3 separate regions of the Homo sapiens genome follow, and all the other regions are linked to region 1. The links are contacts of gene promoters, found by promoter capture Hi-C in blood cells and fetal thymus (Javierre and others, 2016). All regions are on one chromosome and are shown on one strand. Each heading gives the region's core, a stretch centred on a gene start or on the middle of the fragment in contact. The rest is flanking DNA. Distances are from core to core; before and after follow the strand shown. Region 1 holds the start of HS3ST2 (heparan sulfate-glucosamine 3-sulfotransferase 2). Region 2 has its middle 23 kb from the start of LINC02890. Region 3 has its middle 50 kb from the start of LINC02890.

Region 1 (3,561 bases), core at 580-3,079:
TAGACAGTCTATGCATGACTGGCTGCCCCTAGCACCCTTGCTAGCCTTCACCCGCAGGGCCCACCTTCAAATTCCACATTTTGGCTGCTGGTTTAGAAGCATCACTTAAAGTGAAGTGCCTTTTTTACACCTTTAAGGCACTTCAGAAAAGCCTTGGAAGGTATACAGGGCAAGGGCTGTTTTCCTGCCCATTGGGATGGATGAGAAAATAGAGGCTGATAGAGTTTAAGAAACTTGCTCAAGCTTAAGTGACAGACCCAAGACTCGAATCCAGGGCTCTTTCCACTACTCAAAGACCACCTACCAGGGCCAGAGCTACTGGGGGTCTCAGCCCCAGTACAGCAGCAAATACCTGGGTTTGAGATTGAGACTCCCTAAGGCATCTTTCTTACTGGAGACCTCTGGCGATGCACTGTCATTTGGCCTGAACTCTGGGGACCTTTCCCAAACAGAGCCTTGCTGCAAGGGGTCTCTGAACTGCCTTATCTTTCTCAGGGTCCTTCAGGGGCTGGGTACCAGCAAAGACCTACAGAGGGTTAGGATGGTGCCGTGTTCAGGCAGCACAGGTCCTCGCCTGTCCCTTCCTTGGGCACCCTAAGGGCTGGTCACAGAGGGAGTTAGCCCTTTAGCTGGCACTTAGGTTTGACTGGAGATAATCCTTTTCCAACGACTCCAGTGACGAGGGAACGCCCTTTGCAGTTCCAGAAACTGCCCGTCTAGATTATCACTGGGAAGTTCTGGGTAAATTCTGCTATAGCCCCCCATGGCCCTGTGTGTCAGCCTGAACCCATACAATGAGTTGGGTTAAAAGAAAGAGAAAACACAAGAGACGGATGGCTCTCCCAATGGAAGCGATCAGAGACCCGGCGCACGGAGCGGAGCTCCTGGTCCTTACCTGTACCAATCCAGCCCGCGGCCGTAGTTCCTGTCAAAGAAGTGGGGTTCCGTGCCCAAGGCCCGCACGTCCGGGTGTACTCGGATAAACTCCAGCACGGCCCGGGTGCCCCCCTTCTTCACGCCCACAATGAGGGCTTGGGGCAACCGCTTGGTACCCAGCTTGGGTGAGCCGGAGTGGTTGGAACCGGAGAGGCGAGGGGCGGGCACGGCGGCGGCGGGCGCGCTGGGAGCGCTGGGCTCGCTGGGCGTCGGCCCGGAGGGATCACAGGGGCGGGACTTCTGGAGAAGTTTCTGGCCGCCCGCGCTGGGGCCGCGGAGGCAGCGAGGCGCGCCGAGGAGGCGGCTCCGACCCAGGTCGTCGCAGCAGCACAGGAAGCTGTAACACAGGTAAGTGCAGGAGAGCGAGAGCGTGAAGGCGAAGAGCAGCCTGCGCGCCCTCCGCGGCTGAGGTGGCCCCGCGCGGCCCAGGACCCTATAGGCCATGGCTCCATGGGCCCGCGCCGGGGGTCATGGTTTCCGAGGGGGCACCGGCGGCTGAGCTGCTGTGGCCCTGCGGTCGCCTAGAGGGCTCGCGTGGCGCTGCCACGGCCACGCGGGTCGGGCGTTGGGGGCGCCGTCTTCTCCGGGGGCTGCTGACCAGGGTGCGCACAGTGCCAGGGGGTCCCGGGGGCAGCGGCTCCTCGGGGAACAGGCGGTTGCATTTCCAGCATCTCCCGGTCCTAGGCGATGGGGCTCCGGGCAGCCGGGCGGCTCGGGCGCTCCCAGGCTCTTACGTGCGCCGGGTTCGGAGCGCGCCCAGCGCCCGAAGCCCCATTCCTGATCCTCGGAGCGCCGCTCACGAAACGCTCGGCGGCGGCGCGGCTGTGCGGGCTGGCGGGTGGACCGGACGGTGGCGCTGGCGCCGGCCGCGATCTGGCTCTTCGGGAAATGCCGAGCGGAGCGCGCTGCCGGCTCTATTTAAGGAGTGGCCTGACGTCAGCCGCGCGGGTCCCCCGAGCCCGCGCCGCGCCCAGGGACCTGGCCCGCCCCCTGCGCCCCCACTCTCTTACCCCTCCCAGAAACACAGCACGCGGGCCCTCCCCATGCAGGCCACTCCCTACGGAGCCCCAGGCCAGCTTTGGGGCGGTGAAACGAAGGTGTCAAGGCATAGTACTCCTCCGGGAGGCTGGACACCCCCACCACGCTGGCCTCTCGACATCCAGGGACACGAATCCAGGTCGAGATCGCGCCGACATGCAGACCAGACAGACCCAGACGCAGACGCAGGCACCCTGCCCTGATGCGCGGTCCCACCACCCTGACCCGCACACGCACGCACAGGCACAGAAGCACACGCGCCCTAGCCCGGACACACCCCCACACCCACGCGGGGGTGGGGAGGAGAAGTCCCCTAACCTGGGCCCAGATACACCGACAAGGACACTCCCCCCGCTCTCGACATCTCGCCAAATGGACACACACAGCCCGGAATCGGACACCGAGCGCACGCACGCCCTGGACTGGGACACGCGCTGTAGACGGGATGGGTGGAGGAGCCGAGCGTGAGTGAGATTCCGTGACTATTCACCCAGCTTCTTAGCCCCCAGCGCGCTGACTCACACCCCGGCGGCTCGCTCTGTCTCGCACCTATGAGGCACGCGCGCACCCCAACCCATTGTCACCCCACCTCTCCCCGGGCCTGCCGGAGAGCGAGCCCCGGAGCGGCAGACTCCGCGTCAGGAGGGTTCCTCTCTTAGCAGCCGCCGCCTAGCGGTAGACTGCTCCCCGGGGAGCTGTCCAGGGTACCAGAGGGTCGCCGAGGGCTGAGTGAGGAGGGCTTCTTCACACAGAGACACTAGGAGGAGGAAACAGAGTACAAGGAGAACGTATCCAGGAGCAATTCCACTTCGAATGATTCCTAAGTGAATGCCTACAGGACAGTTCTCGGTGACCATGTCCAGAACAGGCATAAGTGACGATCCCCAGTACTTCCCTGAGGGACCACACTGGTACCTTGGATCAGAACCCTGCATCAGAACAGGCCTAAATGGCCATGGCTAAGAACACGGCTGAGTTGTCCTTCAACAGCAATGCCAATGCCAATTCACCATGTCCGAGTGTTCACAAGGTGAGTGCCCTCCACCACCACCCAGCCATAGAATGTCTAGATGACCACCATGACCCCCACCCTGATCAGGGTATAACTGACTTCCTTCCTCAGGCTGTAAACTGATCATTAGGTTCTGTGGATCTTAGCCCAAACCAGAAAATATTTTGTCCCCAAACTAGTCCCATCCCTAGAAACCTTAAACCAATTCTACGGCAGATAATAATAATAGCTGCCAACTTTGTATCAAGCACCTGGCATGGGTTAACTGATTAAATATTCACAACCTATGAAGTTGTTACCATTACCCTGGCATCACTTTGCTGTCTTAATTCTAATAGTAGCTAGCATTTATTGAGTGCTTGTTTTATGGGAGTTATGCGCTAATCACTTGACATGCACTACCTCATTTATCTTTGGAGATAGGTATTATTGTAATTTCTAATCTACAGGCAGTGATAAGAAGATTTAACAAACATATACACAGTAACTGGCAGAGCTGGGATTAAACCCGGGCAGTCTTGACTCCAAGATTCAAGCTCTTAGTTACAGCACTTTGCAGCTTCCTAACTTCCTTT
Region 2 (3,561 bases), core at 354-2,853, 180 kb after region 1:
CTGACTGGTTTGTAGTAGACCTTCAAGGATATTTATTGGCTGGTTCACATCTATAATCCCAGCACTTTGGGAGGCCGAGGTGGGAGAATTGCTTGAGCCCAGGAGTTTGAGACTAGCCTGGATGACATAGGGAGACCCTGTCTCTAAAAAAAAAAAAAAAAAAAATACAAAAAGTTAGCTGTGCATTGTGGCATGCAGCTGTGATCCCAGTTACTTAGGAGGCTGAGGTGGGAGGATCATCTGAGCCTGGAGGTCGAGGCTGCAGTGAGCTATGATCGCGCCACTGCATTCTGGCCCTATTTACTGCTATTGATACATGTTATTTGCAAAGGGATCCTCCTCCCTGGTTACTACCACAATTGTCACTGCATGGTTAGTGCTTGGACAATACAGAGCCTATTACTGGAGGCTTGAACAGGACTGGGGTGAGAAATACTCTCCCATCTTAAGGGGCAGAAATTATTTGTCTGCCTGTTTGTCACAATGGGCATGGCTTTTACAGACCTCTCTCATCCTTAATATTTTTATCTACTCTTTTCTGATAACAAATATTATTCCCTTTTCACCTAGAATGTTTGTCACAGGACAAAAACTCTTTACCCATCCCATATGCTTCGTGCCAGACATTAGAAACCATCTTTGCTCTTAGCAGCTTCCCTGTGTCAGGAAGCCAAAGTGCCTCCAGCCAGATGAAAGTCTTCAGTATCCTGATGATTGGTCAGTGTATGGTTAATGAGGGTGATCCAAACCAACGTCATAAGAAAATCCCTCCAATTCCAGTGGTTTTGCTTATTTCTCATGCACATAAAGCACAGTGGGGGTGTATCTGATCAACAGGCAACTTTCTTCCACACAGTGATTCAGGGACCCAGGCTCTTTCCATCTTACAGTTCCACTTTTCCCTAAAGCTTTGGGATTATCTGCACTCCGCTGGCAGAGAAGGAAAGAGAAATAAAGAAGGAAAGAGGGTACCCACTTCTTAAAAAAAAAAAATCCTGACCTAACACATGGACGTAAAGATGGGAACAACAGACATTGGGGAATACAAAATGGAGGAGGGGCGAAGTGGGGCAAGATTTGAAAAACTACCTATTGGGTACTATCCTCACTACCTGGGTGACAGACTCATTTGTACTCCAAACTTCAGCATCACACAATACACTTTTACAATAAACCTGCACATGTACCTCTAAAATAAAAGTTGGGGGGAAAAAAAAGAAGAGAAACTCTCACAAAACATAAATAAATAAGTAAAGCTAACCCAGAGGTAACACACATCACTTCTGCTCGTGTTCCTGTGATGAGAACTAATCACATGACTCCCTGCTGATGTGAGGGAAACTGGGAAATGGCATTGCTGGCCTAGAAGTTGCCTCACAGCAACCACTTCATGCTGTAGAAAGGGGATCAGGAATTTTTCGTGGATAGCTAGTCATCTGCCACAGCCAATGAATTGCAAAGGACTCAGATGATCTTCTACTTAGAATTAGAAAATCATCTAATGAGACTCTTAAGAAATCTCCAGGCCAGGCGCCATGGCTCACACCTGTAATCCAAGCACTGTGGGAGGCCGAGGCAGGTGGATCACTTGAAGTTAGGAGTTCAAGGCCAGCCTGGGCAACATGGTGAATCCTGCCTCAACTAAAAATATGAAAATTAGCCGGGCGTGGTGGTGCATGCCTGTAGTCCCAGCTACTCAGGAGGCTGAGGCAGGAGAATTGCTTGAACCTGGGAGGTGGAGGTTGCAGTGAGCTGAGATTGTGCCACTGCACTCCTGCCTGGGTGACAGAGTGAGACTCTGTCTCAAAAAAGAAAAAAAAACACAACATTTTCAGATGTATTTATTTTAATAGACAGGATCTCACTCTGTCACCCAGGCTGGAGTGCAATGGTGGGATCAGAGCTCACTGCAGCCTTGAACTCCTGGGCTCAATCAATCCACCTCCTTTAGTCTCCCAACTAGCTGGGACTACAGACGGGTGCCACTATGCCTAGCTATTTTTTTTCTTTTAGAGAGTTCAGGTCTTGCTATGTTGCCCAGGCTAGTCTCAAGCTCCTGGCCTCAAGCATTCCTCCTGCCTTGGCCTCCCAAAGTGCTGGGATTACAGGTGTGAGCCACCACATCCAGCCTATTCTTTCCAAGTCTCTTAACACTCCTGTTCCCTGTCACAGGATATAGGTTTTTATGCCAATGGGTAAAGACTTCGAACTGGGAGGGGATTATGCAGTGTGACAAGGTTATAACCTACATAAACCTTTAAATTAGGCTTTAAGCGTGGTCTGCTGCCATAAAGCTTGTGGGCATCGGGAAGCCAAGAAAGCATCCTACTATTCTTTGACTGAAATTAATCTCCATTCTCTATGTGACTGCTCTTCACCGGGGCATCGTGGTGCTATGATCAGCCACACTTCCTGTCCTTGAAGTCCGAATCAAGCCTGTGAAGGAAGCCTGGAGTAAACTCCCAGGACACATGTCTAATACAGCTATTTTCTTTTTTAAAATATAAGCAACTGCTATGGTTCCATAATGAACATTTTTATTTTTAAAGTACTTTATTTCATAGGGAAGAAATGTAATGCATTCTTTTCCCCCAAAATAATAAAGAAAATTGCTACTGGGAAAGGTTTGGCATTTGAAACCTAGTGGGAGATTTCTCCAGCAGATGGTTTAGTGGCAAAAAGCTTTTAAGAATTTCTGACTGCTAGAGAAAAAGGGAGAGGGAAGGTGGGGGTTGGGGGGAGATTGATTTGATGTGATAAAGAAAAGATGTATCCAAAGAAAGCAATTCTTATTCAAGTTCTGATGACTCAAATGATCCATAGACTAGATCACAGATTCCAAAGCCTGACTGTGCATCAGAATAGCACGGGAAGCTCGTTTAAAATACCAATGGAATCAGAATATCTGTGGGTGGTGACCAGACATGCATATGTTTTCAAGCTCCATAGGTGATTCTGTTGAAATGCAGTGGCCTATCTCTTTGTTTAATTCTGATGGTAGCTACAGAGCTAGGCAGTACTATTAGCTTAGCAAATATTTTGTACTCTTAACCACTTGGCTAGCATTTGCTGTATACCCAAGCCCACCAGCAGCAGGCTCTTTACTGGGTCTCTCATCTTTTTACAAAAAGCATTTGGATGATATACTTGAGAACCCCATGGATGAGGATGCCAATGCATTTGATTATTTCATTTGGAAGCAAGGGAGGCAAAATTCACAGCCAATCCACCCAGCACTCTCTGCAGAGAATCACAGCTATGTTACAGCAAATAGCTCTGTTGAATACCTTTGGCTGCATCCCCTGGGAAGGCAGGATGGTGTCCTGGGAGGAGCAGAGACTGTAGCAGATTGGCTTTAACTCCCAGCACTGCTGCCTGCTAGCTGGGGGCCCAGGATATGTTCTTTCAACCCTGTTTGTTGTTTGTAAAACTGGAAAGAATTCTACTGACCCCACAGTAATATAAGTTTCAAATGGGGCTGGGCACAGTGGCTCATGCCTGCAATCCCAGCACTTTGGGAGGTCAAGGTGGGTGGATCACCTGAGGTCAGGAGTTCAAGAC
Region 3 (3,561 bases), core at 387-2,886, 150 kb after region 1:
TCTGAGGCCTGATGTCTTCCGACGGTTCATTGAAGTTGCAGTTGTTACTTTCCCTTGAACTGTGCAAACGCTTGGTGTGCTCGGGTTGATTTGGTGCTTTTTGTATATTGCTCATCTGGCAGAGAATTACTACTCTGCTCTACAAGTTCCCACAGATGGCTTTATTTTCCATTGCTATTAAATTGGTTTTGAACAAGACATAATTCTTCAAGTGCCTGGTGTGCTCTCTGGGTTTGCTCAGGCAAGATTCCATAAAAATGTAAATAATCGGAACACTTCTGGGATTATTTATCACAACTGACTTGTGGCTGTAAATTTATGTATTAATTTCAGCTATAAGCTTCAGTGGGGAAAAGATGAACCATTGAAAATAGTCTCTTCCACCCTAACATCCTCGCTATGTCCCCATTTCCCCTCTGCTTCCAGGGAACGTACCAGAGAATGGCTCACACATCTGGGTCTGAACGACATTGAACAGGCTCGAAAAGGAACCAGGTGGTAAGTGGGGAATAATCACTCCTCAGCAACCCACAGGCTCATCACTTACTGCTCTCCCCTGGGTCTTCGGACCCCAGTCACACCAGCCTTTCACTTGCTCCTGTGGATTCCTGCCCCAGGACCCTTGCACATGCACCCCAGGCTTGTAATGCTCCTTCTTCCCTTTTATGCCTGGTTCACTCTTACTCATCCTTCAGCTCTTGGCTCAGCGTCACTTGTTTGGAGAAGCTTCATCCCCGCCCACCTGCTAGACGAGGTCTCCTCCCAGGTGTTCTTCTCATCCACAGCGCTACTCACAATCACAGTTCCTCATTTTGGGAGGATTTTTAAAACTTAATGTCTGTCTCCCCTACTTGGCTGTAAAAATTTCATGAGGGTTAGGGCTGTGTCTTTGTCGCCTGCATGCCCAGAGCCTGGCACAGAGTTGAAGATGGATGAATGTGTGCAGAACAAACTAATGGATCCACTTGGAATAAGAGCACATAGCAGGGCTCTTGGGGCCTCTGCCCACACGCACTCAGACCACGCTCTGCACACAGCTCCTTGTGTGCTTTCTCTTAGCCAGCACCTGCATGTTGGCAGAGGGCTGCTCTCACTTTGCCTGTGTGTGCTGAGACTGGAGTGCCTGGGAATTTGCACTCCCCTTGGAGGCCAGCCCTTAACCAATTAGTGGTGAAGGCAGGCTTAGAAGCATGCCAGCTGGCCGGGTGGAATGGCTCATGCCTGTAATCTCAACACTTTGGGAGGCCAAGGCAGGAGGATCACTTGAGGCCAGGAGTTCAAATCCAGCCTGGGCAACACAGCAAGACCCTATCTCTACAAAAAAAAAAAATTAAAAATAGCCGGACATGGTGGTGAGTGCCTATAGTCCCAGCTATTTGGGAGGCTGAGGCAAGAGAATTGCTTGAGCTCAGGAGTTTGAGGCTGCAGTGACCTATGATCGCACCATTGCAGTCCAACCTTGGTGACAGAGCAAGCCCCTGTCTCTGAAACATCACGCCAGCTCTCTTGTCTTGATCGGAAAACTGCAAGGAGCAGCCTGAACTCTCCCTGGAGCTGTCCTGGGGACTGAGCCACAGCAGTCCTCCTGTAGGACCTTGCTTGATCCAACACCCTTCTTGGCTTCTTCTCTTCTCCATTCTATTTTCCCACTCCCCTACTAGTGTTTCTGAGAACCCCTCATAATAAATCACTTTTACACAAATCCTCGTCTCAGCGTCTGCTTCCAGGGAGCCCAACCTAAAACAGAGAGTCTTCTGCCTGCAAATATTCTCACTGAGCTGTGATTAAGATCATACATTTTAGAGCATGCAAGCACTCTAACCAGACAGGCCATTTGCTGATTCAGACAAGGATAAAGTCCTGCTAGTAACACTGTAACTGGCAGGGCATATTCATGTCAACAAGCTAAGCCCCTCTAGTCTTGAACCTTCTCCCCGACTAGCCCAGTGCCCCACTGAGACAGCATGAGAAGTCTGTGCCACTGAGATCCCAACCAAACTGGACATTGGAGCTCAGCAGCAAGACTGACTTGGGGGTAAGCCAAGATCATCTTTAAGATGCTCCTGCTCCTTCTCAAGGTAGGTGAATAGCTAGAGCCCAGAAGCTCGAGACCAGCTTGGGCAACACAGTGAGATCCCATCTCTACAAAAAATAAAAAATTATCTGGGCATGGTGATGCACACCTGTTGTCCCAGCTACTTGGGAGGCTGAAGTAGGAGGATTGCTAGAACCTGGGAGGTGGAGGCTGCAGTGAGCCATGATTGTGCCACTGCACTCCAGCATGGGTAACACAGTAAGACCCTGTCAAAAAAAAAAGAAGAAGAAGAAGAAGAAGAAGAGGAAGAAGAAGAGGAAGAAGAAGAGGAAGAAGAGGAAGAGGAGGAAGAGGAGGAAGAGGAGGAAGAGGAGGAAGAGGAAGAAGAAGAAGAAGAAGAAGAAGAAGAAGAAGAAGAAGAAGAAGAAGAAGAGGAAGAAGAAGAAGAAGAAGAGGAAGAAGAAGAAGAAAAGATGTTATGTGCGACCAGGGCAGGGCAGAACCAAGCTTTTGGGTGGAGAGAAGGAGGTTCCTCTGACTAGAGGATCTTAGGGGGCTGAGGTGCAGGCTGTTAAGGTTTTTGTAGCAAGGATGTCTTCAGCTTTAGGACACAGACTACCTAATTTTAAAAAGGCTTACATAATAGAGACATGTTTATTGAAGGAATTGCTATAAAGCAAAATAACAGGGTGTTGTGGAAGAGAAAATCAGAAGTCAATGCAGATGGTGTTGGCAAAAGCCTCTCTAAGGAAGGTGCATTTAAATCAAGACCAGAAGATGGAGAGGGATCAGCTGTTTCACAAGAGCACAGTGGCCCCTAGAGATGTTCACGTCCCGATCACCAGAACCTGTGAACATGTAACCTCACATGGCAGTAAAGACTTTCTGGATGTGATTAAACTAAGAATCATGAGGTGGGTGATCATCCTGGATGATTTAGGTTGTTCCACTGTAATCACAAGGGTCCTTAATAAGGGAAGGAGGGAGACAGGGGGGTGGTCAGAGAAGGAGACGTGATGATGGAGGCAGAGGTCAGAGTGATGTAGCCATGAGCCAAGGCATGCAGGCTGCCTGTACCTCTGGAAAAGGCAAGGAAACAGATTATCCTGAGAGCCTCCAGAAAGAATGCCCCTTGATTTTAGCCCAGGGAGATCCATCTTGGACTTCTGACCTACAGAACTGGAAGATAAGAAATGTGTGTTGTTTTAAGCCACTAAGTCCGTGGTCATGAAGTCACAGCACAAAGAGGAAATTAACACAAGTGTCACCTCAGAGGGATCAGCATGTACACAGTCCTGAGGCAGGAGGGCTTTTATTTGAGAAATGTGAAACAGATCCATGTGGCTGGTACCCAGTGGGCCAGGAGGTAGAAGTGGACAAGATGATGCAGGCCCTCATGTACCACCCTCCACAGGAAGTTGGGATTTTATTCTAAGATTGACGGGAAGCCATTAAAAAGTGTTTGTGGGGCAGGGTGTGGTGGCTCACACCTGTAATCACAGCACTTTGGGAGGCCAAGATGGGTG

Evidence for each region. The method cuts DNA at HindIII sites, captures the fragments that hold promoters and counts their contacts. A CHiCAGO score of 5 or more calls a contact.
Region 2: a fragment that was not itself captured here is called in contact with the fragment with the promoter of HS3ST2 in region 1 in 2 of 17 cell types (M0 macrophages and M2 macrophages); the score reaches 6.6 in M0 macrophages.
Region 3: a contact is called between a fragment that was not itself captured here and the fragment with the promoter of HS3ST2 in region 1, in 1 of 17 cell types (M0 macrophages). The highest score is 5.4, in M0 macrophages.

The regions. Positions count from the first base shown.
Region 1 is chr16:22,812,430-22,815,990 of GRCh38, reverse strand. HS3ST2 (heparan sulfate-glucosamine 3-sulfotransferase 2) reads right to left here and starts at 1,829. Exons shown (of 2, transcript NM_006043.2): 1 at 896-1,829. The coding sequence starts at 1,380. LOC107984851 (collagen alpha-1(XVI) chain) reads left to right here and starts at 1,132. Exons shown (of 4, transcript XR_001752349.2): 1 at 1,132-1,284; 2 at 2,727-3,004. The HindIII fragment of the contact is 5,471 bases long and covers 246-3,561 here.
Region 2 is chr16:22,634,843-22,638,403 of GRCh38, reverse strand. No RefSeq gene overlaps it. Among named protein-coding and RNA genes, the nearest start is that of LINC02890, 23 kb to the right of the region's middle. RefSeq lists enhancers at 2,217-2,772, 2,773-3,329. The HindIII fragment of the contact is 1,386 bases long and covers 911-2,296 here.
Region 3 is chr16:22,661,918-22,665,478 of GRCh38, reverse strand. No RefSeq gene overlaps it. Among named protein-coding and RNA genes, the nearest start is that of LINC02890, 50 kb to the right of the region's middle. RefSeq lists an enhancer at 642-801. The HindIII fragment of the contact is 1,816 bases long and covers 729-2,544 here.